Regions from separate parts of the Homo sapiens genome. Here all the other regions are linked to region 2. The links are contacts of gene promoters, found by promoter capture Hi-C in human tissues and cell types (Jung and others, 2019). All regions are on one chromosome and are shown on one strand. Each heading gives the region's core, a stretch centred on a gene start or on the middle of the fragment in contact. The rest is flanking DNA. Distances are from core to core; before and after follow the strand shown.

Region 1 (3,423 bases), core at 267-2,766, 200 kb before region 2:
TATGCTGCCCAGGCTGGCCTCAAACTCCTGGGCTCAAGCAATCCTCCTGTTTCAGCCTCCCAAATAGCTAGTAGGACTACAGGAATGGCCCAGTGCACCTGGCTTATAGTTGTCTTTTAAAAACAGCCATTACCATTTATTTATTTATTTATTTAGAGACTGAGTCTTTCTCTGCTGCCCAGGCTGGAGTACAGTGGCATGATCTCAGCTCACTGCAATCTCTGCCTCCTGGGTTCAAGCAGTTCTCCTGTCTCAGACTCCTGAGTAGCTGGGATTATAGGTGTCCTCCACGACAACCAGCTAATTTTTGTATTTTTAGCAGAGATGGGGTTCGCTATGTTAGCCAGGCTGGTCTCCAACTCCTGACCTCAGGTGATCCACCCACCTCAAGCTTCCAAAGTGCTGTGATTTCAGGCAAGAGCCACGTGCCCAGCCTAAAAAGAGCCCTTACCTTTTAGAGAGGCATACTTAAAAATGGATGAAATAGATGTCTATGATTTGCTTTAAAATAATCTGTAGAAAGAGGTGAGTGAGAGCATAAATGAAATAAGATGAGCCATCAGTTGGTAATCTTTGAAACTGGGTGATGGCTACATGGGAGTTAATACACTTTTCTCTCTCCTTTCTCATGTATTTGCAATTTTTCCTATAAAAAGTTTTTTGGTCTGGGCACAGTGGCTCATGCCTGTAATCCCAACACTGTGGGAGGCTAAGGTGGGAGGATCACTTGAGACCAGGGGTTTGAGACCAGCCTGGCAACATGGTGAAATCCCATCTCTACCAAAAAAAAAAAAAAAATTAGCTGGGTGTGGTGGCACCACCCTGTAGTCCCTGCTACTCGGGAAGCTGAGGTGAGAGGATCACCTGAGCCCCGAATTTGAGGCTACAGTGAGCCATGACGGCACCACTGCACTCCAGCCTAGGCCACAGAGGGAGATACAGTTTCAAAAAAAAAGTTTTGTGTTGTTGTTTTTAACTAAGCTTCTCAGATTCACCCAGATGCGGAGTCAGTGAGATCTCACATGGTCAGCTTCACAGGAGGGCAGGCTTTCTGCATAAAAACAGGAAGCTTAGAGAGCTCCGGGGCAGGGTGTGCTGTGACTTCACTGTGTTTTTGCAGAAACAGGTCTGATAGCCCTCGGAGATCAGCAGACAAGGTTAAGCAAGAGACAGCAAGTCTGAATTTGAGGTTAAATGTGAAATCACACATGTTGTCTAGATGTTTGGTCAGCACTGGCTCCTGGATCTTGGGGGCCTCTACAGAGCCCACCCTCCACCCCCATGTGCTTATGCCAGCACATGTGATAGCTGGAGACTTATCCAGCCACCTCACTGCACACCCCAGCAAATGGCCAGCACCAGTGGGTGATCAGGAAATGATGCCCGGACAAACTGATAGATGTAAGGAATTTGAGGCTGGGCACAGTGGCTCACGCCTGTAATCCTAGCACTCTGGGAGACTGAGGTGGGCAGATCCCTTGAGGTCATGAGTTTGAGACCAGCCTGGCCAACATGGAGAAACCCCTGTCTCTACTAAAAATAAAAAAATTAGCCAGGCATGGTGGCGTGCGCCTGTAATCCCAGGAAGCTGAGGTAAGGAATTTGAGGCCTTTCCTAGAGGCAGCAGCTGGAAGTGGAGGGATTGAAGGAACCCCTCATCTGACCAGCTGCTCAATTTTCTTACCCACACGATAAGGCTGGTTCCTTAACTACACGGCCACGTGAAAAAAACAAAAAACAGGGCCAGGCACAGCGGCTCATGCCTATATTCCAGTACTTTGGGAGGCTGATGTGGGAGGATCACTTGAGGCCCGGAGTTCGAGACCAGCCTGGACAACATGACAAAACCCCATCGCTACTAAAAATGTGAATATTTAGCTGGGAGTGGTGGTGGGTGCCTGTATTCCTGGTTACTCTGGAGGATGAGGTATGAGAATCCCTTGAACCCTGGAGGCAGAAGTTGCAGCGAGCCGAGATTGCGCCACTGCACTCCAGCCTGAGCAACAGAGCAAGACTTCATCTCAAAAAAAAAAGAAAAAGAAAAAAAACACAATTTTGGGTCCAGGCCCTCTGGGAAGATGACTGCAGTACAAGGGGCCAAGGTTAAAGTGGATGGTGGTGAGTCAAAACTGAGCAAGAACAAGCCGAAGAGATACCTGAAAGCCGAGAAGAAAGTGGCAGAGAAGGCAGCCAAGCAGTAAGAGCTCAGTGAGAAACAGCTAAGCCCAGGTCACTGCTGCTGCCACCAACCATACCACTGACAATGGTGTGGGTCCTGAGGAGGAGAGCCTGGACCCAAATCAGTACTACAAGATCCACAGCCAAGGCCAGGCCCGGTGGTTCACTCCTGTAATCCTAGCACTTTGGGAGGCTGAGGCAGGCAGATCACTTGAAGTCAGGGGTTCGAGGCCAGCCTGGCCAACATGATGAAACCCCATCTCTACTAAAAATACAAAAATTAGCTGGGCATGGTGGCACATGCCTGTAATTCCAGCTACTTGGGAGGCTGAGGTAGGAGAATCGCTTGAATCTGGGAGGTGGAGGTTGCAGTGAGCTGAGATTGAGCCACTGCACTCCAGCCTGGGCAACAGAGCGAGACTCTGTCTCAAAAAAAAAAAAAAAAAAAAAGATTTGCAGTCAGGTAGGTCAATGGGAAAGACCCATACCCCAACGAGATCCATGTAGACATCTCCCTCACTGACTTCATCCCAGAATATTGTCACCTGCAAACTGGGGATCTCCTGACTGATATCACCTTAAACGTGACAGATAGGATCCATGCCAAAAAAGCTTTTGGAGGAAAGCTGAACTTCTATGATCTTTTTTTTTTTTTTTTTGAGATGGAATTTCACTATTGTTGCCCAGGCTGGAATGCAATGGCACAATCTCAGCTCACTGCAACCTCCTCCTCCCTAGGTTTAAGCAATTCTCCTGCCTCAGCCTCCCTAGTAGCTGGGATTACAGGCGTGCGCCACCACGCCCGGCTAATTTTGTATTTTTAGTAGAGGTGAGGTTTCTCCATGTTGGTCAGGCTGATCTCGAACTCCCAACCTCAGGTGATCTGCCTGCCTGCCTTGGCCTCCCAAAGTGCTGGGATTATAGGCGTGAGACACAGTGCCCAGCCATGAACTTCTATGATCTTTGAGCAGAGGGGGTCAAGTTGCAAGTCATGGCCAATTTCAGGAATTATAATTTCAGGAAGAATAATTTATTCATATTAATAACAAACTGCGTTGGGGAAACATAATTGGAATTCAGAGGAATCCTGGGAAAAACCAAGAAGGATGAGCTGAGCTTCATTCCCTATGAGATCACACTGCTGTGGCCTTGCTTGTATATGTTACCTCATCTTCACTTTGGCCTCAAAGACAAGGAAATAAGGTATGGTCAGAGATACTTGGACTTGATCCTGAATGAATGAGG
Region 2 (3,446 bases), core at 293-2,792:
TGTTCCCAACAATGTTTGTGGGGTGGGCTGTATCATTCCCATGTTTGAGATATATAAGCTGAGGCCTGGAACTTGAAGGGCCCTGTCTGAAGTCCCAAAACTAGAAAACGATTTAGCCAAAATTTTTGTTTTAATCCGTATGTATGGCTCTCCAGGCTGATGGAGCTGGTCATATTTTGCAGTACCCAGAGGCTATACACCTGAGTACAGGCAGAAGCTACCCAGAGGATGATCTCTCCAGGCTTCTAAAGTATTTCTTTACTTGTTCAATGGTAATATTACTACTTTATACAGTTGTTGTGAGGATTAAATATGGTACGTAGGCCGGGTGTGGGGGTTCACGCTTGTAATCCCAGTTTGAGAGGTCGAAGTGGGAGGGTCGCTTGAGTCTAGGAGTTCGAAACCAGCCTGGGCAACGTGGTGAAACCTCGTCTCTACAAAAAACAAACGAACAAAGAAACACCCAAAAATTAGCCAAGCGTAGTGGCGCATGCCTGTAGTCCCAGCTACTCGGGAGGCTGAGGTAGAAGGATCGCTTGAGCCCGGGAGGTCGAGGCTGCAGTGAGCCGTAGTAGTGCCACTGCACTCCAGCCTGGGCGACAGAACGAGATCTTGTCTCAAAAATAAAATATTTAAAAATGTGGTATATAAAGCATTTGGCATATAGTACATTCAATACAAGCTGGTTGTTACTAGTAATGATAAAGTGCGCCTACCGTTTTGCTAGCACGTAACGTCTTCACTGGGCTAAATCAGCCCGATTCTAACCATTGACTCTGTGGTGCTGGAGCCCTAGATCAATGGTCAGAGGCCAGCAGGAGGTGCAGAGGTCCGGATCAAGTGCCATTTCCCTCTCTAGAAGTACTCAAACCCTCATCTCTGCCCTCATCCCTGCCAGCGCCTACCTCGACGCGGACGAGAAGCTGTGGTACCGCGACTGCTGGCAGGCCATGACCCACGGGCAGGCGGGCAATCAGCACCCGCGGCCTGGGAAGCTGTGGTAGCGTACAGCCGGTCGCCATGGCGACCAGGCCCCAGAGGCCCCCCCGCGGCGGGGGCGGAGTCAGGGATGCGCCACGCCCCCGAGCCTAGCGCCCGCGGGCTGGGAGTAGGACAAAGTAGCAAAGGTGGACTGGGACCCGGCAGCGGGTGCCCTGAGAGTCAACCACTACAGCCGATTTGACCCCAGGTACCAGAACTGAGGCAGGGGGATGAACAGAGGCCATGGGGAGGGAAGTGTGCTGAGAGGCCGGAGCCGCTTTGCCGGCGGGAATGGTAGTTTTCGGTGTCCCGACGTCTCGATGGGACAGGCTTATGGCTGAGGACGGTTATACTACATCTCCCAGAATTCTCTACCAGCCCGAGTTGCTCCGCCTCTCGAGAGCTCTGCATTGTGGGGTATGGAGTTCGAAATGTGGTAAGGCGTGTCAGTGTCCAAAGAGGGGTGCCGGACTCGGACTCGGTTTCCCTGCGGCCCAGGGAGGCTCACGGGCCATTGGCTGAGCGGGGCGGATCTGGTCCCGCTCCTCCCCGCCCCCAGTGACACAATAGTAGCTCCCTCCAAGATGGCGGCAGCGACGGCAGACCCGGGAGCTGGGAACCCGCAGCCTGGGGACTCCTCCGGCGGGGGCGCTGGGGGCGGGCTGCCGTCCCCTGGGGAGCAGGAGCTGAGCCGGCGCTTGCAGCGCCTGTATCCCGCGGTCAACCAGCAAGAGACTCCGCTGCCGCGCTCCTGGAGCCCCAAGGACAAATACAACTACATTGGTCTCTCCCAGGGCAACCTCCGCGTCCACTACAAAGGTATCGGCCCGTCAGGCTGGGGGGAATTAAGGCTAGAGCGTCCGTGGGGTGGCTCTGCTGCCAGGCCCCCGCCCTATCACCTCCCTTTCCCTGCCTAGGTGCTCCAAGTTAGGGCTTGGCCCTTTCAGGATGTCCAGGGTGGTGAGGCTGAACAGGCCGAGGGCTGACTGCCTGTTCTCTGTCCTGAGACACCTGCCGTCAAGAGAACCGCAACAGGTGTCCAAACCCAGTGCTGGGCCGGACCTTCCACTCCAGGGCCTCCGTGCTTATCCTAGGCTGGCGCCAACGGCAGCGGGACCTTTCGCCACTGCTTAGAAGAAAGGGGTGGTCACATACCTACCATTAGCGTGAGACTCATGGGCTTCCCCACCTGCCAGGCATCCTAGACTGAGCCTGGGGTTCCGTGCTAGAGTTTGGGGGGTGTCTTCCAGGTCGGCCTCATCCTTCTTCCCCTGGCCTCCCAGGTGGGCTGCCTGGATTCTAGAGAGGCTGCCAGCAGCACTTGAGTATCTCTCACATTGCCTCTACCCTTGTTTTGTTTGTATGGGCAGTGTCTCAGGCAGGACTGCTGTTCTCAGGAGGAGGTGAGGCAAAGGTGGAAGGTTTAAGTGTTTATTCAGTTGTCTAATGATTCCTCGGCCTGTGTAAGTGCGTCCTCTGGCCACAGAGGAGTGGAGTTGTCATGGAGGAGTTGCAGAGAAAAATGAGGCTTCCATTTGCATTTCCTTCTGCTGAAATTTCTTACTTGCCCTCTCCTGTTAGGTCATGGCAAAAATCACAAAGATGCGGCCTCAGTGCGTGCCACCCACCCCATACCTGCTGCCTGTGGCATTTATTACTTTGAAGTGAAGATTGTCAGCAAAGGAAGAGATGGGTAAGCCCTTCATGACCACCCTCTTTCCCTGATCATGGAGCTGATCCCTGTGGTCAGAGTTCAGGTCCTTTGGCTGGCACTTGTTGCTGATGTGAGCTGGGGAGCCGCATGGGTCTGGGCTGCCATTATTTCCTGACTGTGGGCATGGTCTGGTCTAAGCAGCAGATCTTGATGGCCAGTGGGTGTGTTGGGGGTAAAGCAGGGATTATTTTTAGTGATGATGTAATTTGATACCTAGAAGGTTAGGCAAACAAGTAACAAGTTTACTTTAAAAATTTAGTGTCCAGAATGGAGTTTCCCTCATGAGCATGTGGTGTTTTTGTGACTTCCTTCCTTTCACATTCTTGCTGTATTCATGAGGTTCTTTTTTATGGCATTTAGTCATGTGGAGGCCCTGGTAGCCTTCAAAGAGATAGTAGAGTCTTTGCAGCATTCATGAAAGCTTCTGTGGCCACCGGCCTGTCATCTCAGGGTAAACAGCATACACATGATCAGAATCAGGTGACCTTGCTGCTCATAAACTTGTTTTTCAGTCCAAGGACTTGAACACTACTAGTTGGATCAACTTTAGGAAGGTCCTCATTAAAGTCAGCATTAGGAGCCAGGCACGGTGGCTCACGCCTGTAATCCCAGCAATTTGGGAGGCTAAGATGGGCAGATCACCTGAGGTCAGGAGTTGGAGACTAGCCTGGCAAACATGCTGAAACCCTGTCTCTACTAAAAATACAAAAAAATTAACTGGCATACCTGTAATCCTATCACTTCAGAAGAC
Region 3 (3,321 bases), core at 223-2,722, 210 kb after region 2:
TCTTGGTAAGAAATACATTAGCAGCTCTAAGACCCCATGAACTTTCACAAGCCACAGAAATTCTGAAAGTCAACATGAAGGGTACCTAACAAATGGCCTAACAGAGGTTGATACGAACCCTCAGACATCATAAGAAGGCAGAGAACGCACAGCCATAAAAAAGAATGAAATAATGTCCTTTACAGCAACACAGATGCAGCTGGAGGTCATTATCCTAAGCGAATTAAGGCAGGAACAGAAAACCAAGTATCTCATGTTCTCACTTACAAGTGGAAGCTACACACTGGGTACACATGGACATAAACATAACAATAGGCCTTAGGGATTAGGAGGGGGAGGGAGAAAACGGGGTAAGGGCTGCAAAACTAATCATTGGGTACTATGCTCATTACCTGGGTGATGAGCAACAATTGTACCCCCAAACCTCATAATCACACAATATACCCATGTACACAAAAAAACTTGGACATGTACCCCCGAATCTAAAATAAAAGTTGAAATTGTAAAAAATTTTAAGAGAACAGAAGATACCTTGCACCTTTCTCTTTATATGTATAAAATATATATTAAAAACCATATATTAAAATATAAAAAAGATATACAAATATATAAATATAAAATATATATTAAACATTTATACATATATATATAAATTTTTTTTTTCCAGATGGAGTTTCACTCTGTCACCCAGGCTGGAATGCAGTGGCGCGATCTCGGCTCACTGCAACCCCTGCCTCCAGGTTCAACCGATTCTCCTGCCTCAGCCTCCTAAGTAGCTGGGACTACAGGCACATGCCACTGTGCCCCGCTAATTTTTGTATTTTTAGTAGAGACGGGGTTTCACCATGTTGGCCAGGCTGGTCTCAAACTCCTGAGCTCAAGTGATCCACCCACCTCGGCCTCCCAAAGTGCTGAGATTACTGACGTTGAGCCAGTCACCAACGCCTGGCCTCTGTAAGTATCTTTTTTTGATGTTGTTGTTTTTGAGACGGAGTCTCACTCTGTCACCCAGGCTGCAGTGCAGTGGCACGATCTTGGCTCACTGCGACTTCCGCCTCCTGGGCTCAAATAATTCTAATGTCTCAGCCTCCCGAGTGGCTGGGACTACAGGCGCATGCCACCATGCCGGCTAATTTTTATATTTTTAGTAGAGACAGGGTTTCACCATACTGGTCAGGATGGTCTCAAACTTCTGAGCTCTGGTGATCCTCCCACCTCAGCCTCCTAAATTACTGGGATTACAGGCATGAGCCACTGTGCCTGGCCTTATTTATTTTTTTAGACAGATTCTTGCTCTGCCACCCAGGCTGGAGCGCAGTGGCACAATCCCGGCCACTGCAACCTCTGCCTCCAGGGTTCAAGCAATTCTCCTGCCTCAGCCTCCTGAGCAGCTGGGATCACAGGCGTACACCACTATGCCCAGCAAATTTTTGTATTTTTAGTAGAGACAGGGTTTCACTATGTTGGCCAGGCTGGTCTCAAACTCCTGACCTCAGGTGATGTGCCCGCCTCATCCTCCCAAAGTGCTGGGTTTACAGGTGTGAGCCACTGCGTCCAGTCGATAGATCTTTACATTAGAAAAATGTTGACTGAAAAGCTTAGTCTGGTATTCTCACTATACAGAATGTTAAATGACATTAGGACAAGGAGGGGAAAAAAAGCAATTATAAGTCATCAGGTCGGGCACAGTGGCTCACACATATAATCCCAGTACTTGGGGAGGCAGAGCCAAGAGAATCGTTTGAGCCCAGGAGTTCAAGACCAGCCTGAGCAACATAGTGAGACCTTGTCTCCATTAAAAATTAAAAAAAAAATTAGCTAGGTATGATGGCATCCATCTGTAGTCCCAGCTACTCGGGACTGAGGCGGGAGGATCGCCTGAGCCCAGGCTGCAGTAAGCTATCATCACACCACTGCATTCCAGTCTGAGTGACAGCGCAAGACTCTGTGCCCTTACTGCCCCCCCCCAAAAAAAGTAATCAGTTTTTCCTGAGGATGAAAGGAAAAGCTAAGTAACTTTTACTAGATGCAGGACACTAGCCAAAACGAATAAAAGTTATTAACTCTTTTAGAGTAAAAGCTAGGTTTAAAAGTTAAACAAAATAACCATTTTACTCTGCTATTCCTGAAAACATATACGCCATCATCTTATCTGAGAGCTTAAAATACATCAAAGCAAAGTATCAGTGAACTAGTACCAGGAAAGTTGTAGACTACAATAAAGAATGAGGAGGAGTTGAATTGGGAGAATAACTTGGGCTGAGAAGCAGAAAAATAATAGTGACCATTTCTTTCACAGTGACTGGGAACGGAAGCAGCCTTTATCTGAAAAAGCACTCATCTATTTAATCACAACTGTACCTCTCACTTCTCTGACATTAATTTTCATTTATTTTTTGAGACAGAGTCTCGCTCTGTCACCCAGGCTGGAGTGCAGTGGTGAGATCTTGGCTCACTGCAATCTCTGCCTCCTGTGTTCAAGCAATTCTCAGCCTCAGCCTCCTGAGTAGCTGGGATTACAGGCACGCATCACCACGACTAGCTAATTTTTGTATTTTTCGTAGAGATGGGGTTTCATCATGTTGGCTAGGCTAGTCTCAAACTCCTGACCTCAAGTGATCTGCCCGCCTCGGCCTCCCAAAGTGCTGGGATTACGGTGGCTCACGCCTGTAATCACAGCATTTGTGTGAGCCACCCAGTCCAGCATTTTTTTTTTTTTTTTTTTTTTTGAGACAGAGTCTCACTCTGTCATCCAGGCTGGAGTGCAATGGTGCCATCTCAGCTTACTGCAACCTCCACCTCCCGGGTTCAAGCGATTCTCCCGCCTCAGCCTCCCAAGTAGCTGGGATTGATTACAGGCACCAAACATCATGTCCGGCTAATATTTGTATTTTTAGTAGAGACAGGGTTTCGCCATGTTGGCCACGCTGGGCTTGAGCTTCTGACCTCAGCTGATCCACCCTCCTCAGCCTCCCAAAGTGCTAGGATTACAGGTGTGAGCCATCACACCTGGCCGATCACCGTGCTCGGCCAATTTTTAAAAGAACAGTTAGGGCCGGGCACGGTGGCTCACGCCTGTAATCCCAGCACTTTGGGAGGCCGAGGTGGGCAGATCACAAGGTCAGGAGATCGAGACCATCCTGGCTAACACAGTGAAACCCTGTCTCTACTAAAAAAATAAAAATAAAAAATTATAAAATAACAGGGCTTTTTGTATGTGTGTGTGTAGAAATAATTAAAAGGGAAATGAAAATGTTTCTTCTAAGTTAAAAAAAAAGTTAAGAGCATTCTAGTATTTTGTTAACAATCTCCCCTCCCATT
Region 4 (3,273 bases), core at 523-3,022, 200 kb after region 2:
CTGGGCTGGGATGTGCTACTGTTATCTCGTGGGTGAAAGCTAGAGATGCTATTAAACATCCTCCAAGACACAGGTCAGTCCTCCACCACAAAGAATTATCAGGCCAGGCCGGGCACGGTGGCTCACGCCTGTAATCCCAGCACTTTGGGAGGCTGAGGCGGGCAGATTACCGGAGGTCAGGAGATCGAGACCATCCTGGCTAACACGGTGAAACCCCGTCTCTACTAAAAAATACAAAAAAATTAGCCGGGCGTGGTGGTGGGCGCCTGTAGTCCCAGCTCTTGGGAGGCTGAGGCAGGAGAATGGCGTGAACCTGGGAGGCGGAGCTTGCAGTGAGCCAAGATCGCGCCACTGCACTCCAGCCTGGGCGACAGAGCGAGATTCCATCTCAAAAAAAAAAAAAAAAAGAATTATCAGGCCCAAGATGTCAAGAGCACTGAGGCTGAGAAACTCTGATACAGATAAAAGAGTCTTAAAGAGACAGTAATCAATCACAATGCATGAATCTTCTTTGGATCCTGATTCAAACCAATAAATGGTGAAAAAGATGTGACACAAGACAATTAGAAATTTCAACTCTGGATATCTGATGATATTAAAGAATTACTAACAAAACTAATTTAAATCTTACACATGTAGTGGGGAAGACACTGGTAAAGGACATATAATTTCAGTGGGAATAAGTTCAAGAGATCTATTATACAACATGAATATTACAGTTAATAATAACGTATACCTGAAAATAACTGAGAGCAGATTTTTAAGTGTTCTCATCACAAAAAATGACAAGGATGTGAGATGATGCATATATGAATTAGCTTAATTTTCTGCAATTATGGGGTCTTGCCACATTTCCAGACTGGCCTTGAACTCCTGGGCTGAAGCAATCCTCCCACCTAAGCCTCCCAAAGTGCTGGGATTATACATGTGACTGAGCCACTGTGCCCGGGTCTGCCAATGTTTTGTAAAAAGCTTTATTAAGGTAGCTTTATTAAGCACGTGGTGGCTCACGCCTATAATCCCAGCACTTTGGGAGGCTGAGGTGTGTGGATCACCTGAGGTCGGGAGTACGAGACCACCCTGAACAACATGGAGAAACCCCGTCCTAAGTAAAAATACAAAATTAGCCAGGTGTGATGGTGCATGCCTGTATGTAATCCTGGCTACTTGGGAGGCTGAGGCAGGAGAATCGTTTGACCCGGGAGGTGGAGGTTGCGGTGAGCCAAGATTGCGCCATTGTACTGTGCAGCCTGGGCAACAAGAACGAAACTCCGTCTCAAAAAAGAAAAAAAAAAACACTAAATACACCTCCAAAATTTCCTTGTATTTTGTTTTTGGTGATAATATTTATCATGAGATCCATCCTCAACATAATTCAAAGTGCATAATGCTATACGATTAATACAGGAACTATGTTGTGTAGCAGATCTCTAGAACTTACTCATCTTGCATAACTGAAACTTTATACCCACTCAACAGCAATTCCCCATTTTCCCCACCCTGTCAAGGGTTTTTGACCTTGTTTTTTGAAGCCAAACTCAGAACTTAGATCCAGACTGCAATGGCCGTGTTTGTAGACACTGCACAAAACTGCCCATGTCATACCATCAACTTGACATTCACCTCTCTCCTGACAATGAGATCAGGAATTCCCTGAGAATAAGAACCACATCTAACAAGTCGTTTTTTTTTTTTTAATTTTTTTTTTGAGACGGAGTCTCGCTCTGTTGCCCAGGCTAGGGTGCAGTGGCACGATCTCCGCTCACTGCAAGCTCCGCCTCCCAGGTTCACGCCATTCTCCTGCCTCAGCCTCCCGAGTAGCTGGGACTACAGGCGCCCACCACCATGCCCGGCTAATTTTTTGTATTTTTAGTAGAGACGGGGTTTCACCATGTTAGCCAGGATGGTCTCGATTTCCTGACCTCGTGATCCGCCTGCCTCGGCCTCCCAAAGTGCTGGGATTACAGGTGTGAGCCACTGCGCCCAACCGGTTTTTACTTTTTTTTTTTTTTTGAGTCGGAGTCTCGCACTGTCGCCCAGGCTGGAGTGCAATGGCGTGATCTTGGCTCACTGCAACCTCTGCCTCCCAGGTTTAAGTGATTCTCCTGCTTCAGCCTCCGGAGTAGTTGGGATTACAGGTGCCCACCACCACACCTGGCTAATTTTCTGTATTTTTAGCAGATACGGGGTTTCACTATGTTGGCCAGGCTGGTCTTGAACTTCTGACCTCGTGATCTGTCCGCCTCGGCCTCCCAAAGTGCTGGGACTACAGGCGTGAGCCACCACGCCCAGCCACGGTTTTTACTCTTTAGCACTGTGCCCAGGATGGTAAGTACTCAATAAATGCCAACCAAATTGAATATATAATAGAAAGCAGAAAACAAATCAGCCAATTCATAGTTTTTGGCTCTTATATCTTGTGAATGGGCCGGGCACGGTAGCTCACGCCTGTAATCCCAGCACTTTGGGAGGCCAAGGCTGGTGGATCAGTTGAGGCCAGGAGTTCAAGACCAGCCTGGCTAACATGGCAAAACCCCATCTCTACTAAAAATACAAAAATTAGCCAGGCGTAGTGGTGTGCACCTGTAATCCCAGCTACTTGGGAGGCTGAGGCACGAAAAGAACTTGAACCCTGGAGGTGGAGGTTGCAGCGAGCTGAGAAAGTGCCCCTGCATTCCAGCCTGGGCGACAGAGTGAGACTCGGTCTCAAAAACAAAAAATAAAAAACAAACAAAAATCTTGTGAATGACATTACCTAAACAAGAGTAAAATAGGGGCCAGGCGTGGTGGCTCAGGCCTGTAATCCCAGCATTTTGGGAGGCCGAGGCGGGCAGATCACTTGAAGTCAGGAGATGGAGACAAGCCTGGCCAACACGGCAAAACCCCGTTTCTATTAAAAATACAAAAATTAGCCAGGTGTGGTGGCACATGCCTGTAATCCCAGCTACTCAGGAGGCCGAGGCAGAAGAATTGCTTGAACCTGGGAGGTGGAGGTTGCAGTGAGCTGAGATTGGGCCACTGTACTCCCTCCAGCCAGGGCAACAGAGCGAGCCTCTGTCTCAAAAAAATAATAATAATTAAAATAAAATAAAACATATATAGCTGAGTGTGGTGGGGTGTGCCTCTAATCCCAGCTACTTGGAAGGCTGAGTGAGGCTCGAGAATTGCTTGAAGCCTGGAGGCGGAGATTGCAGTGAGCCGAGTGCCACTGCACTCCAGCCTGGAGCCTGGGCGATAAGAGTGAAACTATGTCTCAAAAAAAAAAAAAAAAAA

Evidence for each region. The method cuts DNA at HindIII sites, captures the fragments that hold promoters and counts their contacts. A contact is called where the count stands out against the background at its distance.
Region 1: a fragment that was not itself captured here is called in contact with the fragment with the promoter of RANBP10 in region 2 in 1 of the 25 tissues and cell types used here (aorta).
Region 3: a contact is called between a fragment that was not itself captured here and the fragment with the promoter of RANBP10 in region 2, in 1 of the 25 tissues and cell types used here (bladder).
Region 4: a fragment that was not itself captured here is called in contact with the fragment with the promoter of RANBP10 in region 2 in 1 of the 25 tissues and cell types used here (dorsolateral prefrontal cortex).

The regions. Positions count from the first base shown.
Region 1 is chr16:68,003,665-68,007,087 of GRCh38, reverse strand. It overlaps the pseudogene KARS1P3. Among named protein-coding and RNA genes, the nearest start is that of DPEP2, 5.9 kb to the right of the region's middle. RefSeq lists an enhancer at 1-502. The HindIII fragment of the contact is 4,078 bases long and covers 1-3,423 here.
Region 2 is chr16:67,804,656-67,808,101 of GRCh38, reverse strand. It overlaps RANBP10 (RAN binding protein 10), which reads left to right and starts at 1,542. Exons shown (of 14, transcript NM_020850.3): 1 at 1,542-1,800; 2 at 2,563-2,674. The coding sequence starts at 1,566. TSNAXIP1 (translin associated factor X interacting protein 1) reads right to left here and starts at 1,213. Exons shown (of 16, transcript NM_001288990.3): 1 at 906-1,213. The coding sequence starts at 952. RefSeq lists silencers at 984-1,103, 1,604-1,823 and enhancers at 1,244-1,473, 1,179-1,798, 1,799-2,419. The HindIII fragment of the contact is 11,094 bases long and covers 1-3,446 here.
Region 3 is chr16:67,590,369-67,593,689 of GRCh38, reverse strand. The region is part of intron 2 of CTCF (CCCTC-binding factor); the gene reads right to left. Among named protein-coding and RNA genes, the nearest start is that of CTCF, 30 kb to the right of the region's middle. The HindIII fragment of the contact is 6,285 bases long and covers 1-3,321 here.
Region 4 is chr16:67,606,759-67,610,031 of GRCh38, reverse strand. All of the region lies in intron 2 of CTCF (CCCTC-binding factor), which reads right to left. Among named protein-coding and RNA genes, the nearest start is that of CARMIL2, 37 kb to the left of the region's middle. The HindIII fragment of the contact is 5,706 bases long and covers 1-3,273 here.